Regions from separate parts of the Homo sapiens genome. Here region 1 is linked to region 2. The links are contacts of gene promoters, found by promoter capture Hi-C in blood cells and fetal thymus (Javierre and others, 2016). All regions are on one chromosome and are shown on one strand. Each heading gives the region's core, a stretch centred on a gene start or on the middle of the fragment in contact. The rest is flanking DNA. Distances are from core to core; before and after follow the strand shown. Region 1 has its middle 100 kb from the start of LZTS1. Region 2 holds the start of NPM2 (nucleophosmin/nucleoplasmin 2).

The links. The method cuts DNA at HindIII sites, captures the fragments that hold promoters and counts their contacts. A CHiCAGO score of 5 or more calls a contact.
Region 1: a fragment that was not itself captured here is called in contact with the fragment with the promoter of NPM2 in region 2 in 1 of 17 cell types (total CD4 T cells); the score reaches 6.0 in total CD4 T cells.

The regions. Positions count from the first base shown.
Region 1 is chr8:20,401,024-20,406,047 of GRCh38, reverse strand. No RefSeq gene overlaps it. Among named protein-coding and RNA genes, the nearest start is that of LZTS1, 100 kb to the right of the region's middle. The HindIII fragment of the contact is 1,493 bases long and covers 2,341-3,833 here.
Region 2 is chr8:22,022,884-22,028,454 of GRCh38, reverse strand. It overlaps NPM2 (nucleophosmin/nucleoplasmin 2), which reads right to left and starts at 4,321. Exons shown (of 10, transcript NM_001286680.2): 1 at 3,832-4,321; 2 at 3,625-3,731; 3 at 3,149-3,239; 4 at 2,934-3,019; 5 at 2,683-2,808. The coding sequence starts at 3,206. RefSeq lists enhancers at 3,807-4,519, 4,520-5,233. The HindIII fragment of the contact is 16,503 bases long and covers 1-5,571 here.

The sequences.
Region 1 (5,024 bases), core at 1,838-4,337, 1.6 Mb after region 2:
CTTTCGAGACATTGGTAAGAAGGACCTCACTGATCACTTACTTCCTCATTATTTCAGGATTATTGTAATTTTATGCAAACACTCCTTCTCCACGCAGCTTCTGACGGCTACAGTTCTTGTTTGGTGCTGGCCCCCAGCAATGCTAATAAACGGCTTCCGGATCATTTTTATTCATTTTGCGCATTTCACTCACAGTACTTCATGTGACTTATGTAGCCCCTGCAGCTCATATTTCTATTTGAATTGCAGGGCAAGTAGTGAGTTTTAACATTCCAACTGCACACACATTCTTCTTTCCCTCAAAATGAAAGATCATTTGAACTTTGAATTGCATTAGCATGACATTTTTCTACTAAATTACCCTGGCTGCACTCAACAGCCTGAAAAGAAACAAACCTCTTTTAACTCTATAGGCTATGTGAGTGAATAAATACCAGAGGAAACGCCAGCAGAGAGGAGGAGGGAACCACAGCCTGGCAAGGCTTGGACACTCCCTGTGCTGTGGAGAGCCCATCTGTGATGCTGGCCTGGCAGACTGGGGGCCACTGCTGTCCCCCTACCATGCCAGGCCATGGCTGGGGCATTTGAATGCATGTAGCAGAAAGTGAATGTTTCTCAGCAGCTGTTGTTTTGTGAAAAATGAGGTGTAGCTTCTCATATCATTTTTTTAAAGTAATAATGTTTGCTTTTTCTTGTATTATAATTGCAGGCAATATTCATTGTGGGAAATCTGGAAAGCACAAAAAAGAATAAAGAAAACGAAAACCACCCCTACTCTTGCCATTTAGATAAACGATAACTTTCAGGGATATATTTTTGCAAATCTTTTTGAGGGAGTGGATGAAGTCCTATTTATATATGTGCATAGCATCCTTTTGTTTATCTTGCATAAATTAGGATATATATTTATGATTTGAATCTTTCTCCAACTTGACATTTCTTTTGTGAGCATTTTCCCATTTCTTTAAGAATCATGATTTGCAATGGTTGTACAATATTTCATCATAGGAGTGGATGCCATTTTTATTGGTATACATTAACATCACTTCAAGGTTTGCGTTTAAAATGCTGTGATGAACATGTTGTTGCATTTAATGGATATGATAAGTGATCATAGTGACCACTTCCTGAGTTCCTACTATGTGCCAACCATGGTAACAGACTCTTCCCAGAGGGTATAGTATATATTATAGTAATTTAACATATAATCATAATACATATTAACCCTTGTCATTTCCCTTAGAGGTGGTCATTATTCTCCACAATTTATAGGCAAAAAAAAAGTGAAGTACAGAGGTTAACTAACTGGTTCAAAGCCATCAGGGAAGAAGGAAACAATTCCCGGATTTGACCCCAGCATTCTCTGAGTCCAGTGTCTCTACTCTTTCACCTACATCCTGGGGTGTTACTACCACGCACTCCCATTTCCTTCTCTGAAGGTTGTAGGAAAAGTTGTCCTAGAACACTTAAATAAAAACCCAGCTCTGCCACAGAAGTCTATGTAAAGTCAGAGTCAGATCTGAGTACCAGGAACTCAGCAGGAGTTTGAGATTTGCCTCAGTCAAGGAACAGGGAATTATTTTCTGGATACAGGTTGTGGGTGATAAAGATTCTGCTTTGGGCAACTGCAGACACAGGATCCTCAGCTTCTCACTGTCTGCAGCAGGGGCCACATTTAGTGAAGAGCATCATAGCCTCTCAGAGCCACTTGGACTGAGTCTTCAGGCCACATTGACTGCTGGGTGCACGGTGAGCTCCAAGACAAAAATTTAGTGAGAAAAATAAATTGTGTCTTCTCAATGCTTGTTAACATGAAAACTCAGTGATACACTTGACATTTTCTGTTGAAGGAGGTCATATGGACCACCTTGCAGGATGATATATAAATATCATATTCCTACTAAATAAGGTGATGAGGATAAGTGATCTTAAGTATCTGACTGGATACATCGCAGTAACTCTGGCAAAGACACATGGATTTATCTGCTTTCATGAAGCTCCATGGCAAAGCAGTAGTTCTTAGCCCTGTCCGCCTCTCAAAGATCTATGCGAGGCAACCTTAGCCTTTGGGTGGAATAGAAACAAGATCCACCGGTCTCTCTACATCTTTACAACCCTATAAATGTGAGGTCTTGGTTTGAACTCCATGGCTACACATTCCACACAGTGTGCAGGCACCAGATGTGGCAGATACATTCTAATAATTTACAAACTGCCTGCTGGGCTCCAGGACAGCTTAACTATGCGTCAGCCCTGGGTTAGAGCCATTCAGGCTGCCTCTTTATTCCTCTCCCAAATTTTGTAAGATAGGGAGTAACATTTGGTACAGAAACATAAGCTTCTCCTGAGCCAGGCAGGGAAACACTCCTTGAAATGCCACTCCACTGCTTGCAGGAGAGAGACACAGCGAGCAGCATGTTTACATGGGATCAGGGACCTGCAGTGGAACCTCAATTAGTCATGTGGCCTCAGGTTAGTGAGTGAGTTTATCTGAACCTCAGTTTCTTCATCTGCAAAATTACTAGTTCATCTGTTAATTTAATTTTATTCCTTTACTGACTCCCTGCTATGATAACAACAGGTACCATCTATTGGATGGTATGTGCTAGCATAGTAACAGGTGCTGTTCAAACACCAAGCAATAAAACAGGCACTGTGTCTGCCTTCATGGAGTTTGCTATCAGGTGGGAAGTCACAGAGAAGACATAAGTGATCATATGTAAACAAGTGAGTATGTAAACACACATCGGGATGAGCACTGTTGGGCAAATGAACAGAATGCAACTCAGAATGCAACAAATTGCACTTGGTAAGAATGCATTGGCAAGAATCTATTTCAAAAAAAAAAAATTAAATTTTATGTACTGATCGTATATCCTGTGTCCCATGATTATTTCCTGAACTTTTTCATAGATTCCATAGGATTTTCTTCTTAGATGATTATGGTTGTCTACGAAATAAGACAGGTTTACTTTTTTTTTTTTTTTGAAACAGAGTCTTGGTCTGTTGCCCAGGCTGGCGTGCAGTGGCACGATCTCGGCTCAGTGCAACCTCTGCCTCCTGGGTTCAAGCAATTCTCCTGCCTCAGCCTTCCATGTAGCTGGGATTACAGGCACACGCTACCATGCCCAGCTAGTTATTGTATTTTTAGTAGAGACAGGCTTCATCATGTTGCCCAGGCTGGTCTTGAACTCCTGACCTCAAGCAATCCACCCGCCTCAGCCTCCCAAAGTGTTGGGATTACAGGCATAAGCCACCACACCTCGCCAGGTTTACTTCTTCCTTTATGATTTGGGTACGTTTTATTTTTCTTGCCTTATTGCCTTGGCAAATTCTTCAGTACAGGGTTGAATAAAAGTAGTGAAAGTAAACATCCTTAACTTTTCACTGATCTTAGGAGGAAGACATTCAGTCTTTCAGTCTTTCATCATTAAATGCAATGTCTGCTGTAGGTTTTTCCTGGACACCTTTTATTAGGTTGAGGAAATACCTTGCCATTCCTAGGTTGCTGAGAGGTTTTTATCAGAAATAGATGCTAGATTTTGGTAGTGTTTTCTCTGTACTCATCAAGATAATCAGGTGCCTTTTTTCCTTTTAACTAGTCAACATAAAAAATTGCATTGATTGATTTTCAAATGTTAAACCAGGCTTTCTTCTTATTATCGGTTATATTTTCCTGCTTCATAATTTTTTATCAAATGCAAGACACTGAAATATTTACCATGTTTGTGCTGGATATTTTTATGTGATTATTAAAATTATTGATCTTTGTACTGGGATGCAGTTAAGTTCATTGGAAACAGTTTGATCCTTTTATGTCTTGCTTTTAAGCTTTGTTAAGTGAGACCAGAGTGACATTAGATCTAGGTCTAATTTTCTCCTATTACTATATCAAACCTTTCTGAGTACTCTACCCAAACTCTGACAAATTATGACTGTTTTCACTCTGGCTGCTATGAACAAGAACAATTCCCAACCCTCTTTGCCCCCTAGAGTATATTCCACTAATTTTGGGGAGTGGTATCTGATCTTTGACAAACCTGACACAGACAAGCAATGGGGAAAAGAAACCCTATTTAATAAATGGTGTTGAGAAAACTGGCTAGCCAAATGCAGAAAACTGAAACTGGACCCCTTCCTCACACCTTACACAAAAATCAACTCAAGATACGGGAAACAACAGATGCTGGAGAGGTTGTGGAATAATAGGAACACTTTTACACTGTTGGTGGGAGTGTAAATTAGTTCAACCATTGTGTAAGACAGTGTGGCAATTCCTCAAGGTTCTAGAACTAGAAATACGATTTGACCTAGCAATCCCATTACTGGGCATATACCCAAAGGATTATAAATCATTCTACAATAAAGACGCATGCACCCATATGTTTATTGTGGCACTATTCACAATAGCAAAGACTTGGAACCAACCCAAATGTCCATCAATGACAGACTGGATTAAAAAAATGTGGCACATATACATCATGGAATACTATGCAGCCATAAAAAAGGATGAGTTCATGTCCTTTGCAGGGATATGGATGAAGCTGGAAACCATCATTCTCAGCAAACTATCACAAGATCAAAAAACCAAACACCACATGTTTTCACCAATAAGTGGGAGGTGAATAATGAGAACACATGGACACAGGGAGGGGAACATCACACACTGGGGCCTGCGGGGAGTGGGGGGCTAGGGGAGGGACAACATTAGGAGAAATACCTAATGTAGGTGACAGGTTGATGGGTGCAGCAAACCACCATGGCACGTGTATACCTACGTAACAGAACTGCACGTTCTGTACATGTAACCCAGAATTTAAAGTATAATAATTTTAAAAAATGAGGGGTGGTATTTTTCTCTGCCCTTGAGTAATGTGCTCACATATCTGCACCCATCAGTGCTCTGCGGAAGCCTTGAGTGGGATTCTGTAGCCCTCCAGAGTCCTAATCTGACCCTCTTCTCTCAGGCCCTCTGCCCTGCTATTCTAGTCTCCTTGGCCTCCCCAGACTTCCAACCTCTACCC
Region 2 (5,571 bases), core at 3,072-5,571:
CCCGGCTACTAAGGAGGTGGAGGTTGCAGTGAGCCGAGATTAAGCCACTGCATTCCAGCCCTGGTATCAAAGCAAGATTCTGTCTCAAAAAAAAAAAAAAAAAAAAAAAAAAATCTTTTTGGCAGCTGTGTGGAGCACAGACCAGGAAACTTTCTGTTAAGAGCCAGAAGGTAATATTTTAGGTTTGCAAACCATATGGTCTCCATGGAGACTACTCAAATCTGCTGTTAGGGAGGAAAAGCAGCCATGGACAGGGTACAAACGAATGAGTGTGGCTGTGTTCCCAGTAAAACTACTTACAAAACCAGGCAGCAGCCTAGATTCAAGCCCTCTAGTTTGCCTACCCTGGAATAGACTACAGGGGACCATGTGATGGTAGGTAGACCAGGTGGAAGGCTGTGCAATTAAAATGGAGCCACAGGCAACTGTCACCTGTACCAGGGGTAGCAGGGAAGATGATGAGATGTGGTCCATTGGGGTATAAGATGGGGGCAGAGACAACAGGACTGCTGGTAGATCAGATATGGGTGTGGGAAAAAAGAGGATTTGGCTGGGTGTGGTGGCTCATGCCTGTAAATCCAGCACTTTGGGAGGCCAAGGCGGGTATATCACCTGAGGTCAGGAGTTCGAGACCAGCCTGACCAACATGGCAAAAACCCATCTCTACTAAAATTACAAAAATTAGCCTGGCGTAGTGGAACATGCCTGTAATCCCAGCTACTTGGGAGGCTGAGATGGGAGAATCACTCGAACATGGGATGCGGAGGTTGCAGTGAGCCGAGAGCGCACCATTGCACTCCAGCCTGGGTGATAAGAGTGAAACTCCATCTCAGGGGAAAAAAAAAAAAAAAGAGCTTTGTCTTGGCTAACTGGAAAAACAGCTGTTTTCTGAGAGAAAATCAGGTTGAAGGGGAGGCGGGTGGATTAGAGATAAAAATTGAATATGTGGATTTAGACATGTTAAATTTGGGATATTTATTAGATATCTATCAAAGCCATTTAGTTGGATATAGGACTTGGAGCTCAAGAGAGGTTGAGTTTACAGAAATAAGTTCCTGAGTCTTCATTTGTTTAGATGGTCTTGAAAACCACAGGAAAGGATGAGATCGCCTGCAAAGTATGTGTAAATAGAACAGGAAAGTCTGAGGGCAGTTTGACAGAGGGGTCTCCCAAACCTCCAAGGACAGCTGATCCTAGTCTTCCATTCACTGTTCCAGGGAATAGGAGAGAACCCTCCACCCTCAGTGCATGAGGCTAGCATGTCCTGAACACCTAAATACTATCACTTATAGGCCAACCTCACATGTATACAGGTAAAAAAAAGGGCTCAATATATGAGTAAAACAAATCTAGAATTTGTAACATGACCAGTAGTATTTATCCCAGGATGGCAAAGGAACTCAGATATTATTATCTTCATATAATTTACCACGTGGACTAAAGAACCTAGAATCATATGAATAGAAAAGCATTTGGTAAAATTTAACCCCCTCTAGTGATTTCAAAGCAAAGCAATTTTTTAAAAGCAGAGGGTTTTAGATGGGGACTTCCTTAACCTGACAAAATGTACTTACCAAATGCTTCTTTTTTAAAAAACAAGAAGGAAATAAGGATGTCAGACCTGATCTCATGTTCACCCAATATTCCACTGCAGGGCCTAGCCAGTGCAGTAGGATTAAAAGAAAGAAAGAAAGAAAAAAGACCTGGCGTGGTGACTCACGCCTGTAATCCCAGCACTTCGGGAGGCCAAGGCGGGCGAATCACCTGAGGTCAGGAGTTCGAGACTAGCCTGGGCAACATTGTGAAACCCTGTCTCTACTAAAAATACAAAAATTAGCCAGGCATGGTGGTGCACACCTGTAATCCCAGCTACTCCGAAGGCTGAGGCACTAGAATTGCTTGAACCTGGGAGGCAGAAATTGCAGTGAGCTGAGATTGCACCACTGCACTCCAGCCTGGGTGACAGAGTGAAACTCCATCTCAAAAAAAAAAAAAAAAAAGGCAAGAACTGCCATTATTCACAATTATTATATGCATAGAAAACTTAAGTTATTAGAAACTAGAGAATTTCTGGATGCACAACCAATATGTAGATCGACCATGTTCCTGTCACTAGCAGTGAATGGTTTAAAGCAGCAGTCTCCAATCATTGTGGAACCAGGGAATGGTTTCCTGGAAGACAATTTTTGCATGGATGGGGTGGGAGTGGGGGGTGGTTTTGGGATGAAACTGCTCCACCTCAGATCAGGCATTCGATTCTCATAAGAAGCATGCAACCTAGACCCCTCGCACGCACAGCTTACCATAGGGTTCATGCTCCTCTGAGAATCTAATGCCGCTCTGATCTGACGGGAGGCAGGGCTCAGGGGTAATGCTGGCTAGCTGGCTGCTCACCTCCTGCTGTGCTGCCTGGTTCCTAACAGGACGAGTTCTGGTCCTTGACCCGGCAGTTGGGGACCCCTGGTTTAAAGTGTAATTTTTGCAGACAGCTTAACTGGCCCAAGGTCACACAGCTCTAGGAAGGGGTGAGCTGGGCTGGACCCCGGCTTTCTGCATGGGCTGTGCTACCTCCCTAGCATGGCTCATTTCTGTAGGGTGAATGCACCCTCGTGTGTGTCCATCCCCACCCAAGGGTGAGGGTGAGGCTGACAGCAGTCTTCCAGCCAGCAGGGAAATGCGCACCATGGGGAGGACTGAGGCCTGGAGTGAGGCAATGGTGACCGGCTGCATCTTCTTGTCCTCCTGGTTTGCTGGGGGCAGGATCTCCACGCGATGCATCTCCTCTTTGGCTTTCTCCCCCAAGCAAATCTGAGCGGGGTTGAAAATAGAGGCCCCTCATCACCCTGAGGGCCGACGGGAGAAATCCATAGCCCTCCGTTGGGACCAGAAAGTTCCCGGACACCATCTTCCTCCCCTCTTTTGGGAACACCTACCGTATGAAGCAACAGCCTGCAGCTCTGCTTCCCCTCCAGCTGGGGTCTGAAGGTCCAAGTCCGCCTCTCCTGACTGAGCTCGCAGCCTGCGGAGGAGAAAGGGAGGGAAGTGGGGCCCTCCATTCGTTCCCAAAGGAGGGGCTCACCTGCGCCCCAAGCTGCCGCGCACCGGAGGTGGGGCGTGTCTCTGGGAAGGAGCCTGAGTCCCCACTCACCCCAGAGCACGGTCGTCACTGCCTTTTCCTCCGTGCTACTGGCGCTACTGAGATTCATGGCTCCGGGCAGAGAAGCGGGCTGGCCGGGCAGCTGCAAGGAGGGCGCCCGCGTGAGGCCTTGCTCCCTGACCCTGACCCTCGACTGGAGGATGCCAGAGACCAGCAGGCATCGGCAGGTACTGAGGGGTCGCTCGCGGCTGGAGGGGACCTGCCACGGTCAAGGGCTCACCGGCAACTCCTGGAGGACGAGTACCCACCTCCTAGCGGGGTGCGCAGCCCGGGGCTCGACCGGGCGCGTACAGGACAGCGGGACTCACGGGAGAGGGAGCTGTCCACCGAGCTCAGGCTTGAAAGGCCGCGGGGAGGTCACCTGGCTGCGCTTGGGCCTGACTCAAAAGCCTCTGTGCACCTCCACCAGACGCAGAGAAAGGGGTGTGCGCGCGGCTTAGGTCCCAGCTCCCCCCACACAGCCTTACTGTCGCTGCTCCGCGCGGGGCCAGTCACGCCATCGGCGCTCCCGGAGCGCAGCGCAACCTCATCCCCTCTGGCCGGAAGGCGGCTGTCCAAGCCCGGGCTAAGAAGCCTGGGAAGGGGAAGGGCAGGTGTCCAATTAGTCGCAAAGAAGCCGCCTCCCTCTCCCCTTCCCTTCTCCCATTCTTTCCTCCTCTGCGCGGCAGAATCACCTGGAGGGCTGTTAAGGGGCGCATTGCCGCGCCCCACTCCACAGCTGCCCTTGGCGTCGGTCTGGGTGGGGCCGAGGGAATTTGTAGTTCTAACCAGTTCCCAGGTGAGGCTGATGATGCCGGCCCAGGACCTTTCGTGAGAAGCTGTCCCGGCCAATTGCGGACCCGCCGAGGCCTCCTGGCGCCCCCTCCCCAGCCCATGGAGAGGAAGCCTCAGCTCAGCTTAGGAAGGGAGGCCTGCAGCCGGCAGGAAGCTGCAGTTGGAAGCCCTCCTTCTTGTTCGTTGCCTTTCTTCCTTTCCTTTCCCCATGCCTTATACAGCATGGGCCTTTCCTAAGGCCCAGACAGCCCGTTCTTCCAGCCTACCGTGAGAGCGAGCGAGCCCTGTCTCCAGAACGGTGAGATCTCCCGCGGAGAGCCGCAGCGGGCAGGTGGGGTGGGGAGGTGAGCCGGGAGGCGAGGCGCCGCGGCAGGGGGCGGGGAGCACACTGAGGAGCACGGCTAGCGACGCTACAGGGCCAAGCACGTGACCAGCAGCTGGTCCCAGGCTCAGTGGGCAGTGAAGAGGAAGTGGGGTTTCAGCGGATATACCCTGGAGACACCTCAGATAACCAGGGATCTCCCGCACACCCCTGGGACAGGGGCTCATTGCCACGGAGAGGTCAGAATCTTTTATTCCTGGAAGCTGGGGTCAGCCTCCCTGTGAATTGGCCAGGACAACCCAGGAGAGGCTTGGGGGCCTGCCAGGGCCCCCTAGGCTCCCTATCCCCAGCTGAGCAGTTCCAGTCTCCTTGGCTGTCCCTGAGCTCTCTGTCCCTGGCAAGGCGCCTATTGAAGGTGACAGCCATTGCAGCCAAGTGTGTGGTAAAGATGAGCAAATGGCAGGCACATGCATGCCATGCACAGACGTTCAAGAATTCACTCAACAAACGGTGATTCCGCCAATTGGGCGGGACCTGGGCATCCCGCGGTGAATACGACAGCCCCTCAAAGGGCTTCCAGCCTCATTGGAGAGCAGTGCTCAAAGCAAACCGGCCTTCAGTGGCCCCAGGCTACCCACCCCGTGAATAATCACACTGATGTCAGGCTGCAGCTGGGGGTCACAGTGAAGGCTAAATGGAGGCAGGGGAGGGGGATGACCCTGAGGTCATGACCTAGAGCTGGGACACTGGAACTGGACAGTCTGGGTTCAAGTCTGGACTGTGCTCTGTGATTTCAGGTGTGTTAATTCATAGCTCAGTGCCTCAGTTTCCTCATCTGCTAAATGAGGCTATAATATTGGTACCATCGTCATTAACTTTTTAAACTGATACATATTAATTGTACATATTTATGGGGTACATATGATATTTTTATACTTGCACACAATGTGTAATGAGCAAATCAGGGTAACTGGGGTACCTTCAACATTATTTCTTTTCTTTTTTTTTTTTTTTTGGAGATGGCGTTTCACTCTCATCACCCAGGCTGGAGTGCGGTGGTGCCATCTCAGCTCACTATAACCTCTGCCTCCCATGTTCAAGCGATTCTCCTGCCTCAGCCTCCCAAGTAGCTGGGTTTATAGGTGCTTACCACCATGCCCAGCTAATTTTCATATTTTTACTAGAGATGGGGTTTCACCATGTTGGCCAGGTTGGTCTCGAACTCCTGACCTCAGTGATCCTCCTGCCTAGGCCTCCCAAAGTGCTGGGATTACAGGCATGAGCCACTGGGCCCGGCTAAACATTTATCATTTCTTTG